Linked DNA regions of Homo sapiens: all the other regions are linked to region 3. Evidence: promoter capture Hi-C in 16 types of primary human blood cells and fetal thymus (Javierre and others, 2016). All regions are on one chromosome and are shown on one strand. Each heading gives the region's core, a stretch centred on a gene start or on the middle of the fragment in contact. The rest is flanking DNA. Distances are from core to core; before and after follow the strand shown.

Evidence for each region. The method cuts DNA at HindIII sites, captures the fragments that hold promoters and counts their contacts. A CHiCAGO score of 5 or more calls a contact.
Region 1: a contact is called between a fragment that was not itself captured here and the fragment with the promoter of KLF4 in region 3, in 1 of 17 cell types (monocytes). The highest score is 5.0, in monocytes.
Region 2: a contact is called between a fragment that was not itself captured here and the fragment with the promoter of KLF4 in region 3, in 1 of 17 cell types (M2 macrophages). The highest score is 5.6, in M2 macrophages.
Region 4: a fragment that was not itself captured here is called in contact with the fragment with the promoter of KLF4 in region 3 in 2 of 17 cell types (monocytes and M2 macrophages); the score reaches 5.4 in monocytes.

Annotation. Positions count from the first base shown.
Region 1 is chr9:107,943,552-107,947,211 of GRCh38, reverse strand. No RefSeq gene overlaps it. Among named protein-coding and RNA genes, the nearest start is that of KLF4, 460 kb to the right of the region's middle. RefSeq lists a cis regulatory region at 519 and an enhancer at 447-591. The HindIII fragment of the contact is 4,438 bases long and covers 1-3,660 here.
Region 2 is chr9:107,853,108-107,856,878 of GRCh38, reverse strand. It overlaps the pseudogene LOC101926973. Among named protein-coding and RNA genes, the nearest start is that of KLF4, 370 kb to the right of the region's middle. The HindIII fragment of the contact is 821 bases long and covers 1,303-2,123 here.
Region 3 is chr9:107,488,296-107,491,985 of GRCh38, reverse strand. KLF4 (KLF transcription factor 4) reads left to right here and starts at 2,217. Exons shown (of 5, transcript NM_004235.6): 1 at 2,217-2,818; 2 at 2,936-3,056. The coding sequence starts at 2,814. RefSeq lists silencers at 1,936-2,145, 2,505-2,704, 3,356-3,405. The HindIII fragment of the contact is 11,219 bases long and covers 1-3,690 here.
Region 4 is chr9:107,988,692-107,992,036 of GRCh38, reverse strand. No RefSeq gene overlaps it. Among named protein-coding and RNA genes, the nearest start is that of KLF4, 500 kb to the right of the region's middle. The HindIII fragment of the contact is 1,126 bases long and covers 1,163-2,288 here.

The sequences.
Region 1 (3,660 bases), core at 908-3,407, 460 kb before region 3:
ATATATATTTCCTTTATAAACTAAGCCATTTAAAGATGAATCTTCTTTTATTTACAATGCATGGCATTCTAATAGATACAGAGCACATATGAGAATTTTTCACATTTCCTACATGTATGACTTTAGAAAAGTTATTTCTTTGCTACCAATCTTGTTTTCTACATCCATGAGTAACAGGATTCACCAATGAATTGGATTGTGAGAACCAAGATAATGTATGCCAAGTGCCCAATGCCTAGGACATAGCTGTTACTCAATAAATGGTAACCCTAGCCATGGCAACTCTGGCTATGACTCTGCAACTAACCAGCTAAGTGACCCAGGAAAGTCACTAATCCTATCTGGGAGGCTGATCATTTCTCTATAATGCTTCAGGATCTTTCGCTGGGTTTTGAATCCCCAACTAACTCTCACATTTCATTATTTTGTGCATTATCTTTCTACACACTAGAATAAATTAAACTGGAAATCCCCCTCCAGGCCCTGCCACATGATTCAGTAAGCCAGTCCTTGAGACATGATATATTGGCATTTGATACCAGCCTGGGTTCTTGGCTGTGAGAACAAACAGGGCACTGAGATAACTAACGCTTGATCACCACTGAGCAGATTCCAAGTAGCAGGTTGGATTTGGGAAGGTGGCTGAATAAATATTAGCCTTTATCACAGCTCAAACAACCCCAACTGCCAAACCGAAGAGTTCTTGGGAAGGAATTGTATTCCCTCTTCCGCTTTGGAGAACCAGAAATCACAATGTAATTTTGTCACACTGCCCAGCAGATAATTCTTTTCTAGCTAGTAAATAAAGGCAGGCACTGCCCTATGTGTTTAAAGGCATCGTATGCCTACATTTACTCTCTCTTTCAGATAAAGAGGAGTAGGGCTGGCTTAACAAGAGATACTTCCAAGAAACTGGAGGTGGGTTTTGCCTTTGACCAGTTGAGAACTTTGGTCATAGGAAGAATCCATCCAGTCTGAAGAATCTGAAGAATTATTCAAAGATACTGCAAAAAGCCACGTCCAAGAAAAAGAAGTTTCCAATTTCATGTTCATGGAGGAACTCCTTTTCAAATTCCAAAAGCTGTGTCAACACAACCAATGGGAGTTGGAGAGCCTAAGCAATCATCTGCGTGATTCAAGTTAAAAATATTTGTCCCTAAATCATTTAGTTGAGGCAAGAATAATCTTCTCTATGAATTAAATAAGCAATCACCTTAACTGTAATTAAAATATTATATTTGGACAGTGCTTTATACTTTTCAAAGTACTTTCACTTATTTCACAATTATCTCATTTTCTAGGAAGGTGAAGAGCAGAGAGGTGAAGAGACCTGTCCAAAGACACAACCATGAGATAGTAGCTGGGATCCAAGGGGTGGATGATGTGGCAGGAATGAGAGAGTGTTTAAAGTTATTTCTAACAGTCAGAGCCAGCATTAAGAGCCTAAGTGCCTGACATCTTGTCTCTCTAGTGCCATGCTGCATCTCACCTCTCTCCTCTAGAGGTGCCATATAGTCAATCACATTACGGACATCAAGGTTTATCAGCGGCACCCAGAAACTGACATCAGGGAGAAGATAATGAAGCAACTTAGTCACAGAAAGGAACTACTGTTTACTGAGCACTTTTTATATGCTGGGCCTCTTGCTAAGCCCTTTAAATATATTAGTGTATTTCATACTGTCAATAGGTTGATGAGGTAGAAATTATTATCTTAATTTAAGCCTTTGCAGGCTCAGGAGAATTTGGTGACTCTGCATCTTCAGTACAATGCTGAGGGTATCATTGCTCTCCAACTTCCAGTTAAAGGTCTCACACTTCCCAACAGGAGCTTGACTAATTAGTAAGGCCAGTTTCTCGCTGGGTCCCTCTCATATGCACCTTTTGGTTGTTGGAATCAGCTGCATCCTGAGCAGTAAGGATGCTGAGGCCACTGAGGAAAGGAGTATCTTTGCCTGCCCAAGTATCTAAGTGGAAGGTCTTGCCCTCGGGGGTACAAGTGGAAGCAGCACAGCTTAAACTCTCTAATGTGATCAACCGAACGTTTGGTGTCAAAATCCAATTTATGGATACCACCTCCAACTTCAAAGGCAAAAGAGCTTATGGTTGGTTCCTGGTTATTTGTTTAAATATTTAGATGTGTATTGCAAATCTCCTATACCTCTTTTTGCCACTAAATCTCCTGTTATCCCTTTCTCCATCCCTCTGCCATACTTCTTGCTAATGTTATCTTCATTTTCTTACTTCCCACTCACTGTTTAGCCCATGTTAATCTAATTTCAGACATAACTCTACCAGCCCGGTGCTCTCCAAGTTCACTGGTAAACTTCCTAATTGGCTAATTCAGTTGGCCCTTTCCATTGGTATCTTCTGGGCCTTTCTGCAGCATAGACGCTGCTAATCAACCTTCCTGAGTTTCTTACTGTCATTAGCTTCCATCCCACGAGCTCTCTCTGGAATTCACTCTTGGTTCTTATTCCTTCTTCACTTATTTTTAATCTCTTTTTTCTGTGATGACCCCTTAAATGCCAGAGTTTCTTAGGTTGTGTGCCTTGTCCTGCTCACTCTTGTTTCTACCCAGTCTCATAGAGCTACCATGCCGTCTAGAAGTTTCGCTTACCACCCGTCTGCGGCGGCCCTGTAGATGTTTCTTAGTTTCGTTTGGTTTGGGTTTTTGTTTTTTTTTTCCTGAGACAGATTCTCACTCTGTCACCCAGGCTAGAGTGCAGTGGTGCGATCTCAGCTCACAGCAACATCTGCTTCCAGGCTCAAGCGAGTCTCCTGCCTCAGCCTCCCGAGTAGCTGGGAATACAGGTGTGTGCCACCATGTCTGGCTAATTTTTGTATTTTTAATACGGGGGGGGGGGGGGGGGCTTCACCACATTGGCCAGGCTGGTCTTGAACTCCTGACCTGAAGTGATCCACCCGTCTCAGCCTCCCAAAGTGCTGGGATTACAAGCCCAGCCTATAGACGTTTATCTCCTTCACAAACTTTTTCATGTGCTCCAGGTGCCCCTCAAAATGCCCTCAACTTCCATATGTTTCATATTAAACTCCTCATGATTGTCCAAGATCTGTTCCTCCTCCTGTGATCTCACTCTCCATGAGCACAATCCACCCACCCACTTTCCCAAGCCAGACCCTTGGGAGTCGTTCTTAATATCCTTTTTCCCCTCAGTGCCTGGTCTGCTGCCACATACAATCAATTATCAAGTTTTCCATATTTTTTCCTCTTAAATGTGTCTATAATTGGTCCTCTTTTCCACATTATATCTGTCCCCATCATGACTTGAAACCTCATCATTTTTGCCTAAATCAATATGACAACCTTCTAAATGAAACTGGAGCCTCTATCCTCTGTTCACTTCAACTCCATCATTCACACAACATCTAGAGTGATTCAAGCATCTAGATATATTTTGAACACACATTATGTGATAGGCATTTTTTCAGTACCAGAAAAAATATATATACGCACATACATACATATATACATATATGTTATCTTTCTCTATATTTCTTTCTAAATATTTTCTATGTATCAAATATTTTCCATATATATTTCCCTCTAAACATGTATTTTGTATATAGTTAAATGTTTTTCTCTATATTTTTTCTATATATATATAACTGTTTTCTATATATATTTCCTCTCTCTAT
Region 2 (3,771 bases), core at 464-2,963, 370 kb before region 3:
GAGGAGTGCACACTGAGTTGGAGCCACAGAAGTTCACACGGTTTACAGCCAGGAGGAGCCTGGCCCCTCCTCTTCCTGTATGGAACCTGGGATTCAAACTGCAAGGCAGGAAGTGCACCAGCAGGGACTCTGGCTTTGCTGAGGGCCCGTTTCCCATTCTTTCCCTTTTCACCCAGTAAAACCCTGCCTTACTCACCCTTCAAATTGTCTGCAGGCCTAATCTTTTGTGGCCATGAAACAAGAACCCCATCTTTAGCTGAGCTAAGGAAAAGTTCCACAACAATAGGACCCTTAATTTTTGAAGAACTGAGCTCTCCATCTTCCAGCTATAGAAGCAGAAAACACAAAGTTGGCAAAATCTTAATAAAGATAATTTAAAATTACAGTAGAACTTTCCAAATGAACAACACTGCACTTTAAGAAAGGCATTTAAAAGTGAGGGCTCCTGAAATTAGGCTTATCCAGGAATGCCTAGTGATGGGCAGAAGCTTCTAAAAAGATTCTAATATTTTTATTATCTTTTTAAAAAGGCTTTTTGAAAGGCAAATAGAAAGCTTAAGCAATTAATTGATAAGAAAAATTGAATCTGCTAACTTTTTGGCTTAGTTTCTATTCTGCCCTGAAGGTGAAAAGAAAGTTGGCTGTAGTATTTACAAAAGGCAGGCCCTCAGGTAAAGAGGGCTTAATTATTTTTCAGAGCTATCCATGCTGAGTTCAGGCATAGAGAATGCTTTCCCTGCCCTATTCTTTAATGGGTTTCACCCTGAACTCTGTAATTTTAGCTAAGAAACAGACACTAAGTTTAAAAGTCCACCTATTGAACTAAGTTGGTCTCCAAAATACATCTTTCTGGCACTTAGCTAGCTATTTTAAAACCATTTTATATTTTAAAAAATACATCTATAAAGGAAATCTTAGATTTTAAGATTGACTCCTCTGTGCACTGGGAAGAGAGGGAGGACTGAGTCACTAGAAACTGTGAAAGGTAGATTAGATTTACATAACATGTGTTACCTATAAGGTGATTTTCCTGGCCATTTTAACTGGGCCCTTACCTACACTCTCCTTTGTTGATTTGAGCAAATGATGGTATAATGATTAGGCCTGAAGTCTCTGTGCTTTTGAGATACACGTTTTCTCCTTTGTTTCACCTAAAAGGCATCCGTTTAGAAGTGTAAATGTAGGGTTACATAACTAACAATTACTTAGGACAATGAAATAGGTAATTGGGAAATGGATAGTCTGAATAGAGGAAAGAAAAATTATTTGTAAACTGGCCAATGCAAAACCTTCATGAAAGCTTTAAGATGTGCTTCTGTGTGTCTGTATATCTGTGTGTCTATATATGTTATGTTCATGTGATATTTCTATGTGCTCTAAAATGATACTTGGTAGATAAAGCTAGTTTTAAAATTGTTGGTATAATAAAATAGGAATATCTCCAGAATTGTCAGTATTAAATATAATTCAAACATTTTTGCCTGGATCTACTGATCAGACAGGTTTACGCTGTCTCTAATACATGTTTTAAGGCAACAAAACTGCTGCTTCTATAATATTTTTGATACTTGCTTGATTTATCTGTAAGCTAAAGCTATAAGGGCTGGCTGTTGGGCTCCCCTGAAGGTTTGCACACATCTTACTGGGAGCTTACATAAGTATTTGGTTTTGAGCCTCTGGATACTGGGGCCTGGTCAAGTGGCTATTGTGGGCTTGGGGACACATCCTGTGTTGTCAATGCCTGGGCCACCAGCTCCAATGCAGAGCCAGGCCCAATATGGCCCAGCTTTGCTTCTTGGTTATACTAGGAAGAGTCAGATCCTCCAGGCATTCTCTTTACAGCTCCATCCAGTGTTCTGACCTCTACACCTGCTGTGTAAATTCAGGATTCAGAAGGTCCCTGCCTTTCGTAGCTGTCCCGGGTGCCATGTGGTATTTGAGACTCAGTATGACTGTAGAAGACATTAGGTAGTGTACCTGTGTCATAGTTTGAAGATTCTTTTCAGTAATTTAAAAATCTTAAAGACACATTATGTTAAATTAAGTAACAGATAATCATAAAATGTTTGAGTCATTTCTAAGTTATTATAAAATACTAAAACACTAATTATTAAACATAAGCTTAAGTTTCTATACTTCATCTTATTTTACATCGTATAGAAAAGCTAAATATATTTAGATCTGTTAGTAAATAAAAAAAATTGAGGAAACATATCTCTTTTATTTTTTGAAATGAGAGTCTTGTGTTGCCCAAGCTGGTCTTGAGTTTCTGGCCTCAAGTGATCCTCCTGCCTTGGCTTCCCAAAGTGCTGGGATTACAGATGTGAACCACCATGCTCAGCTGGGAACATATCTTTCTAAAAATTTATGAAATGGTTTTTATCTATAAATACTGATATAAAACAGTTCAGATTACTTCCTAGGTTTTTCACTGGAAATTAGGGTTACTAAGGGTTGAAACTGTAGTTAATTTTAATTGTAATAGTTAATTGTAGTTAAAAGTACGAGATAAAAAAGAAACAATTCGGTATACGGAGCATATTAAGTGAGATACGGACAGAAAGAGGGACACAACAGAGGCAGGTAAGAGCTGCTGCCCTGCCGTAGCCATGACTGTGGTGAACTTGCCCACCAGAAGAATATGAAAAAGCAGAGTGACTTGGTTAAGGGGAAAGCACCAAGATGATGGGCTTTCTGTTGCCTCCTGCAAGCAGAGGGACTTGGAGACCATTCAGCAGAAGCAGAAAAAGGCAAATGAGAAGGAGAACCCAGGCCGGGCATGGTGGCTCACGCCTGTAATCCCAGCACTTTGGGAGGGCGAGGCAAGTGGATTACCTGAGGTCAGGAGTTCAAGACCAGCCTGGCCAACATGGCAAAACCTCATCTCTACTAAAAATACAAAAAAAAATTAGCCAGGTATGGTGGCACACGCCTGTAATCCCAGCTACTTCGGAGGCTGAGGCAGGGGAATCACTGGAACCCAGGAGGTGGAGGTTGCAGTGAGCTGACATCATGCCACTGCATTCCAGCCTGGGGAACAGGGCGAGATTCCATCTCAAAAATAAAAATAAAAAAGGAGAAGGAGGACCCAAGTAGATTTGTGGCTTTGTGTCCAGCCCTCTTGCCGTTTGCCAGTGTGCCTGAAGCCAGTCCAACCGTACTCACATTTCCTCCTGTAGTGCTCACAGGTACCAGCACCGATGGCATTCCCTTTGCCCTGAGCCTGCAGGGCATCTCTTTTGTGCTTCCTTCCCCTGAGGTAGCCTCTCTCCCCCCGGGCCACTCCTCAGGGTCAAGTGGTCTTCCCTTCCCAGTGTTTTTTATTCCTGTGGGGCTCACTCCAAAGTATGAAAAGTCACATTGTAATTCAAATAAATAAATAAAGTGAGATGGGTGTTTTTTGGTGAAGAACGTTATAAAAAAGACATGAGGATGAGTATGTTGTCAAACAAAAAGTAATTTTGTCTCTTTTTGAGGTTATGTAAAAGTTGTTTCAAAATGAAGGAAAATATGCTATAGATAAAACTAAATGAATATAAATGTTGGGGAAAGAAGATAAAAAGAATTATACAAGAGATTATAATCTTATAAGATTGTAAGATATTATGTAAGAGGTTAAAAGAGATTATTTTATAAAATACAAGGTATCCATTGTATGGAAATCTTATTTTTGTGTTCAAAAGCTGGCTGAGATTAGATGTATTTGTTTATGAGGGTTTTTTTTTGTTTTTTTTTAAGAGATGGGATCTTGCTCTGTCACCCAGGCTGGAA
Region 3 (3,690 bases), core at 968-3,467:
CGAGGTCATAGGAAGGAGGACCTCGGTTTCCCTGCCAAAACACTCTCATCCCCCAGCTGCAACCCTGGCAGCCCTTGGCCAGAGCCAAGCTAGAGGATGGAAGTCACACTCAAGGGCGTCCGACTCTGGATCTTAGAGGGATTCCTGGCGTTGGCAGGGAGGGCCGAGTCAATTCATTCGGGGCGAGATGCATTCCAAGAATGCTTCTGTGGTCGGCGAGGAGTGGAAAAATCAGGTATCACAAATATTCTGAGGAAACCTAATAGGTACCAGAATCGCAGGGTTCAAACAGGTGACAACGACAAAGGACATTGGCAACTAGAACTCAAAAAGGGGTGAGCGCACTCTCTGCCCGGTGCCCGAGCTTCCACCACTTTCCCCAGTGTCCCCTCTCTTCTCTTTCCTAGGTTGACACCAGCCTAAGCGCCAGCGTTCGCCGGTGAGGGGGCTCCGTGGAGAGGGGGGCGGAGTCCCGCGCCGAACGCCGGAATCCAAAGTAAACACCTCGCCAAACCTACGTTTAGAAAGTGATACCGAACACCACATTCACGTTTTAAAAAAAAATACTGTTTGCTAAGAAGATGAGAGCAAAACATTTCCCAGCTGGAAAATTACTGATCACAAACCAAGGGGAGAGTGGGGGTGGGGGAGGCAGCGTTATAAGATTGAAGTAAAGATCGCCGTTTCCTATTCCCTTCCCGGTGGGCAAGGACGCCTGCGGCGGGCTCGGTGTGCACTTTTTGAGAGCTAGGATCCCACCGCATCGCTCCACTTCCTGGCACATGGTCACTTCCCAGGGAAGTCCCTTTAGGGGGGCCTGACCTACCCGGAGCCTGAGCCGAAGGAACGAGTTGTCCTTTGACCTTTACTGGCCATTTCACCTCTTTATGACTCAATTTCTCATCCATAAAGTGGAAAGGAGAGTGCGTGGCTTGAAAAGTCATCAGTGAGTGTTTAATTCTTCTTTAATGGGTGTCTTCTATTATTATTATTATTCTACAGTGCAATTTAGTCATCAAATATTACAGGCAGTGGCTCACGCCTGTAATCCCAGCACTTCGGGAGGCCGAGGCAGGCTGATCACTTGAGGTCAGGTGTTCGAGACCTGCCTGGCCAACATGGTGAAACCCCGTCTCCACGAAAAATACAAAAATTAGCCGGCGTCGTGGCGCACGCCTGTAATCCCCGCTACTCGGGAGGCTGACGCAGGAGAATCGCTTGGACGCAGGAGGCGGAGGTTGCACTGAGCTGAGATCGTGCCACTGCATTCCAGCTTGGGCGACACAGCGAGACTCTGTCTCACAAAAAAAAAAAAAAGAAAGAAAAAAAAAGGAAAGGGCTTCGAGATGGCTGGTTGAAAACTGTCTCCGCGCCTCACAGTCCCTCTTCTCTCCCTTATGCCTCTGAGTAAATCTTGAGCCCTTTCACTCCCTTTCTCGCTATTTAAAGTATCAAAACCATAACTCCCCATTCGTGCCTCTTTCCGCCTGTTCCCGGCGGAACACTCCTCTGGCCTTCTCTTGAGGCTCCCAGTTCACGCTGCACAGTGCTGGGCACTGCCTCCTCTCCACACCCCTAGCGCCCCCCACCCCTCAGCAGAAGGGCCCGCGAGGAACCGTGCGAGGTCAGGCCGAGCGCCGGCACCGCCACCGGCACTGGCGCTGAGCGACGAGAGCGGACTCCTGCGAGCGCAGAGAGGGAGGGGGAGATGGAGGGCTGGATGAGTCACGCGGATAATCGCGCTCTTCTCCAGCGCGCAGACAGCGCGGCAAGCGCGTATGCTAGCAGGGGTGCGGACGCGTGACCGTGCCGCCCGCTGACCCCACCAGTCTTCGCGGGCTTCGAACCCAGGGAGCCGACAATGGCGGTGAGTACGGCCCTGGTCGCGCAGCGACCGAACCTGCGCCCGGTTCCTCGCGCCCCGCGCTGGGGCGGACGCCGCCGCCGCCGCCGACACCACTGCCGCCGGCGTCAGCTCGGCTCCAGCCCGCCAGCTGCCTGGCTGGCGTCACGGCCCGGCCCAGCCCCGCCCGCGCCCCTCCTTCCCCTCCCCCGCCCCCACGTGCGCCGAGTTTGTTGATTTAGCTGCCATAGCAACGATGGAAGGGAGCCTCGGGGGGGGCGGAGAGAAGAAAGGGAGGGGCGGGGCATGGGAGAAGGCGGAGGAAAAGGCTGTAGCGAAGGAAGTTATAAGTAAGGAACGCGCGCCGGCGGCCGGCAGTTTCCCGACCAGAGAGAACGAACGTGTCTGCGGGCGCGCGGGGAGCAGAGGCGGTGGCGGGCGGCGGCGGCACCGGGAGCCGCCGAGTGACCCTCCCCCGCCCCTCTGGCCCCCCACCCTCCCACCCGCCCGTGGCCCGCGCCCATGGCCGCGCGCGCTCCACACAACTCACCGGAGTCCGCGCCTTGCGCCGCCGACCAGTTCGCAGCTCCGCGCCACGGCAGCCAGTCTCACCTGGCGGCACCGCCCGCCCACCGCCCCGGCCACAGCCCCTGCGCCCACGGCAGCACTCGAGGCGACCGCGACAGTGGTGGGGGACGCTGCTGAGTGGAAGAGAGCGCAGCCCGGCCACCGGACCTACTTACTCGCCTTGCTGATTGTCTATTTTTGCGTTTACAACTTTTCTAAGAACTTTTGTATACAAAGGAACTTTTTAAAAAAGACGCTTCCAAGTTATATTTAATCCAAAGAAGAAGGATCTCGGCCAATTTGGGGTTTTGGGTTTTGGCTTCGTTTCTTCTCTTCGTTGACTTTGGGGTTCAGGTGCCCCAGCTGCTTCGGGCTGCCGAGGACCTTCTGGGCCCCCACATTAATGAGGTAGGTGAGGCGCGCGGCGCTGGGAGCAGGGAGGGGTGAGGACCGGTGGGACGCGCCGGAACGACGGCCGAAAGCCGCCCCTGACTCTCCTGTCTCCGCTCCCTGCCTTGCTCGCAGGCAGCCACCTGGCGAGTCTGACATGGCTGTCAGCGACGCGCTGCTCCCATCTTTCTCCACGTTCGCGTCTGGCCCGGCGGGAAGGGAGAAGACACTGCGTCAAGCAGGTGCCCCGAATAACGTGAGTATCGCTCCGGGCCGCCGGGAACGCCCGGTGGGTTTTCGTGGGTGTGGTGGGGGCGGGCGGAGCCTTGGGGTCACCAAGAGCCACTGAACGAGGGTAAGGAGCGGCCACCGCGCGGACTCCGCAACCTTCCCGGGATAGCTTCCGTGTCCTTGGCTCAGCTGTGTATGCCCGTGGTGCGAGCACTGCGGAGCCGCCTGGGGCGCAAGCCGGGTCTTCACCAGTCCCCGGGCGCGCTGTCGGTAGGGCGGGCGCTCTCGGGCCACCGGGCGGGAGGTGGCCGCGTCCCCAGACACTGGCTGGGCCAGAGTGAGTTTAGCGCGTAGGCGGCCCCGTGGCGAGAGCGCACCGAGAGAGCCTCGGTGTGCCAATTCCGGGGACGTCCACGGGACCTGGAGGGGGAGGGACCAGCCGCGGCGCTCGCTCACACGCAATTGGGCAGACAGGACATAACACCCGCAATACAGACGCATCACCTCTTCTTCGACCCGGGAGTGGGCCGAGATTGCAGCGCTGGCGCCCTGGGTTCCCGGGTGCTTCCTGCCTGACCAGTCCCCATGTCTGGGCGGTGCAGTCGCGCGTGGCCCGCCAGCACGTCAGTATGTCGGGTGGCAACAGGGGACCACCACTG
Region 4 (3,345 bases), core at 476-2,975, 500 kb before region 3:
TGTTCCCTCCAGAGCCGGTTCTGAGACAAAGGAAAACTTTGCTGCAGGCATGGATTTCTGGAAGGTTTCTAAGAATTTCTTGGGTTTTGGTGAAAAGAATTCTCCCAAATAAGATTGTCTGAGATTTTCCAATTACACATTCTAATTGCAGCAGAGATCCCAGGCTCTAAGTCATTCTGCCGGCTGCAGGTTGTGCTTGACTCACTGGACACAGCAGGACCTGGCCAAGCCTGCCACGGCCCACAGCCCAGCAACTGCCTTTGATTGGGCTCTGCTGCCAGACCAAGGGTGGAGGGGCCTGTCCAGGGCCCCCGAAGTCTCTGAGAGGCAACAATTCTGACTAAGAAGGACACGTGGTTTCTGGAGAAGCATGCTCTGGGTCACTGGGGCCACTGGCTAATGGAGCCAGCAGGGACCTCACCAGGTTTCTTCTGAGCAGTTCTTATGGGGCTGGGTCCATCTTGGTCACAGATTCCTGGATGCCAGGGCTTCCTGGTGAGGTGAAGAGTGTGGAATGTATCTACTCCCTTCTATCCCCCAACTACCACCACCAATCTAGGGACAATGACCCTGTCTCCAACATCCAGCATCCTCTAGGGATCCTAGATGGTTGTAGGAGGAGTCTGTGCAAGTTTCACCTAGTTCTTCCTCTGTCAGAATGTCCCCTGACCCTGTCTTATCCCATTTAGTCACCCTGCCTCTAATCTCTAATTCCTGTTCTCTCTCTTTCTCTCTCTATCCCCTTTCTGTATTTAATCATAAGCTTATTTCCCTTCTCCTCAAAGTAGCTAATTCTTGACATTTTAGCTGAATTTCTCCTTTTAAATATGGAACTTTATTTCAAGGAAATCCTTGAAACAACCATGAAAGCAGGGGAAATGACCATCCAAGCTGTCATATGACATGCCACGCAACACAACATGGTTTTAGTTCAACAATATTTACTGCCTCTCTGCCAGGCATCAGGTAGGATGCTTCAGAAGACTGAGGTGGAGAGAGGGAATAAAAAATGAATGAAGCACTGATAACAGACATTTACTGAGCACTCTCTGTCAAGCTCTGTGCTGAGCTCTTCATATCTATTAGCTCCTTCCATCCTCTCAAAACCTTATGAGAAGGAACCTGTTGGTTCTCCTATATTACAGTAGAGAAAACTGAAGCTTAGAAGGTTAAATAACTTGACCAGGCTGAGCAGCTAGTTAGTGGGGAGGCTGTGTGATCCCACGGCACTAACCTGCATGGCCAAGCCCTTCATTCACGGTATCTTACTCTATCATCACAACTAACTTGCAAAGTAGGTTGTATTATCCATGTATCATACATGATGAAATCAATTGAGAAAAGATGAGTAACTTATATAATGTCACACACTTAACCAATGACAGAAAAATTTAAACCCAAACATCTGTCTCCAGAGCATTGTTTTTTCCACCAAACAAAATTACTATGGTCTCCAAAATCAAGGAGTTCTTAATTTACTAAGAGTACTAGGCCACATAAACAGCTATGATAATGTTATTTAGAAAAAAACGAGATGTGAAGGAGGAAAGGCCACCTCTGTTGAGGGGCAAAGAAATGTCTCCTCGGAAAGGAGGCGTTGAGATGGGTTGAAATGGATCTAAAAACATGGCCTGTCAAAAGTTCCACATCTCAGGACTAAGGATTTGCCTTATTCTACTTTAGGCTGAGTTGATGTATAGGGATGCTAGTTTTAATTTTCCTTGGTTGAGCCCTTTCTCCTGGTAGAAATTTTTAAGGACATCCAAATAGAAAAAGGAAATAGAAAAAATATGGAGTGAAAATGACTTTCCAAGAATATTAAGTGATAATTTTCATACCATAAAAAAGCAAAAGAAAAAAATTGATAGTAATAATGATAAAACAATAATAACCACTGTGAGCTGTGATGGCGTCTGTCACCAGACGCCTACTGCTAGTCAGCCTCATTATCAATAATGAGCCTCCCTCCTCTGTCCTGATTACTATCTTAAGATGGGGAAATGGCCTTTCAGGCAGCCAGGATGGGTTTCTGCAAATGGGTCACTAAGTATTGTAGAGAAAGACTGGGAAAGCCTCGTGGGATCCTCTTCTCACTGAGCTTGTTTTATCATCTCCCTGAAACAGCAGATCTGTGTTGAGTGCTTGCTTTGAACCAGGAATTCTACTGGGGCTGGGAGATATGATGGTTTTGGTGGAAATGAAGCAGAGGTGCTGTCACACCAGAAATAGCCTCCAAAACTCTGCTCACAGTGAGGTCCTCCTGCCCATTGCACCATGCAAACAAAGCTTACATAACTCTCATTTGAGCAATCAAGAATCTTGCTTCAAATTGCAGGTTTCACAACTGCATAGTTGATTTCTAGCCGCCTGCATTGCATTTGGTCTGACTGTCAGAGGCTGGAGAAGAAACCAGGTCAACTCCAAGAATTTGAGAAAACAATAATCATTTCTTGAGAACTCATTAAATGGGCCACGTCCTGAGATTTGAAGCCAAGTCTGTTGATGGAATAGAGGGAGGGTAAAAATTAGGAATGTCTTCACAGAGGAACTTTGAGATGAGGTTTTAAAGGATGAATAGGGAAGCGCAGGAAAGCAGGGGGAGGAATAATTCCTCTAAGCAGAGGGAAAACATGTTTAAAGGTGGAGCGGCATGAAACTGTACGATGAATTCATGAAACTATGGTAGTTTGGCCTGACTAAGCCCTGGTGAGTTCTATTACATTATTGCAGCACAGGGGAATTCCTGCAACCCCCTTGAAAAAGTCTGGAACATCTGAGATGCTCTTCGAGAGTCTATTTGCAAAAACATGCTATGGCCTCCTGGGAGAAATGTTGAAGCCAACCCCCAACCCTCCAGAGTGACTCAGGACTCCAAGACTATTAGAATTAAAATGCTGGTTTGTGGAGATTATGAAGTTTTCCCAGGTTTTGTGATGCTTCCTCAAGTGAGATCCTGGAACCCATCTTGGGCTCTACGACCCAAAAGTAATTGGCCTTACATGGGGATTCTGGATGATTGCTGGTGAGTTTTCCTGAGAATGGCGATCAGTTCTGCTGTTGATATGCTCTCCTCCTCAATCTCTGAAACGGAGAGAGATCCAGTCAACTGAGAAAGAGACCAAGTGTGGGATCTACCATGGATCAGAAGCCCTGCTGATGTTGCTCATGGGAACTTAAGAAAGCCCATTTCCAGGCCTTCTCTCTGTGCCATAGTCTCTGCTGCCATTATTCAAAAGAAAGTCAGAATCCTTGGATCTGCTCCTGATTAGGTGGGGGACTTATTTATAAATCTTTCCCGTGATCAGTGCTATTCTGGAGCCTGTGAAATGTGTTAATGTTGATGCT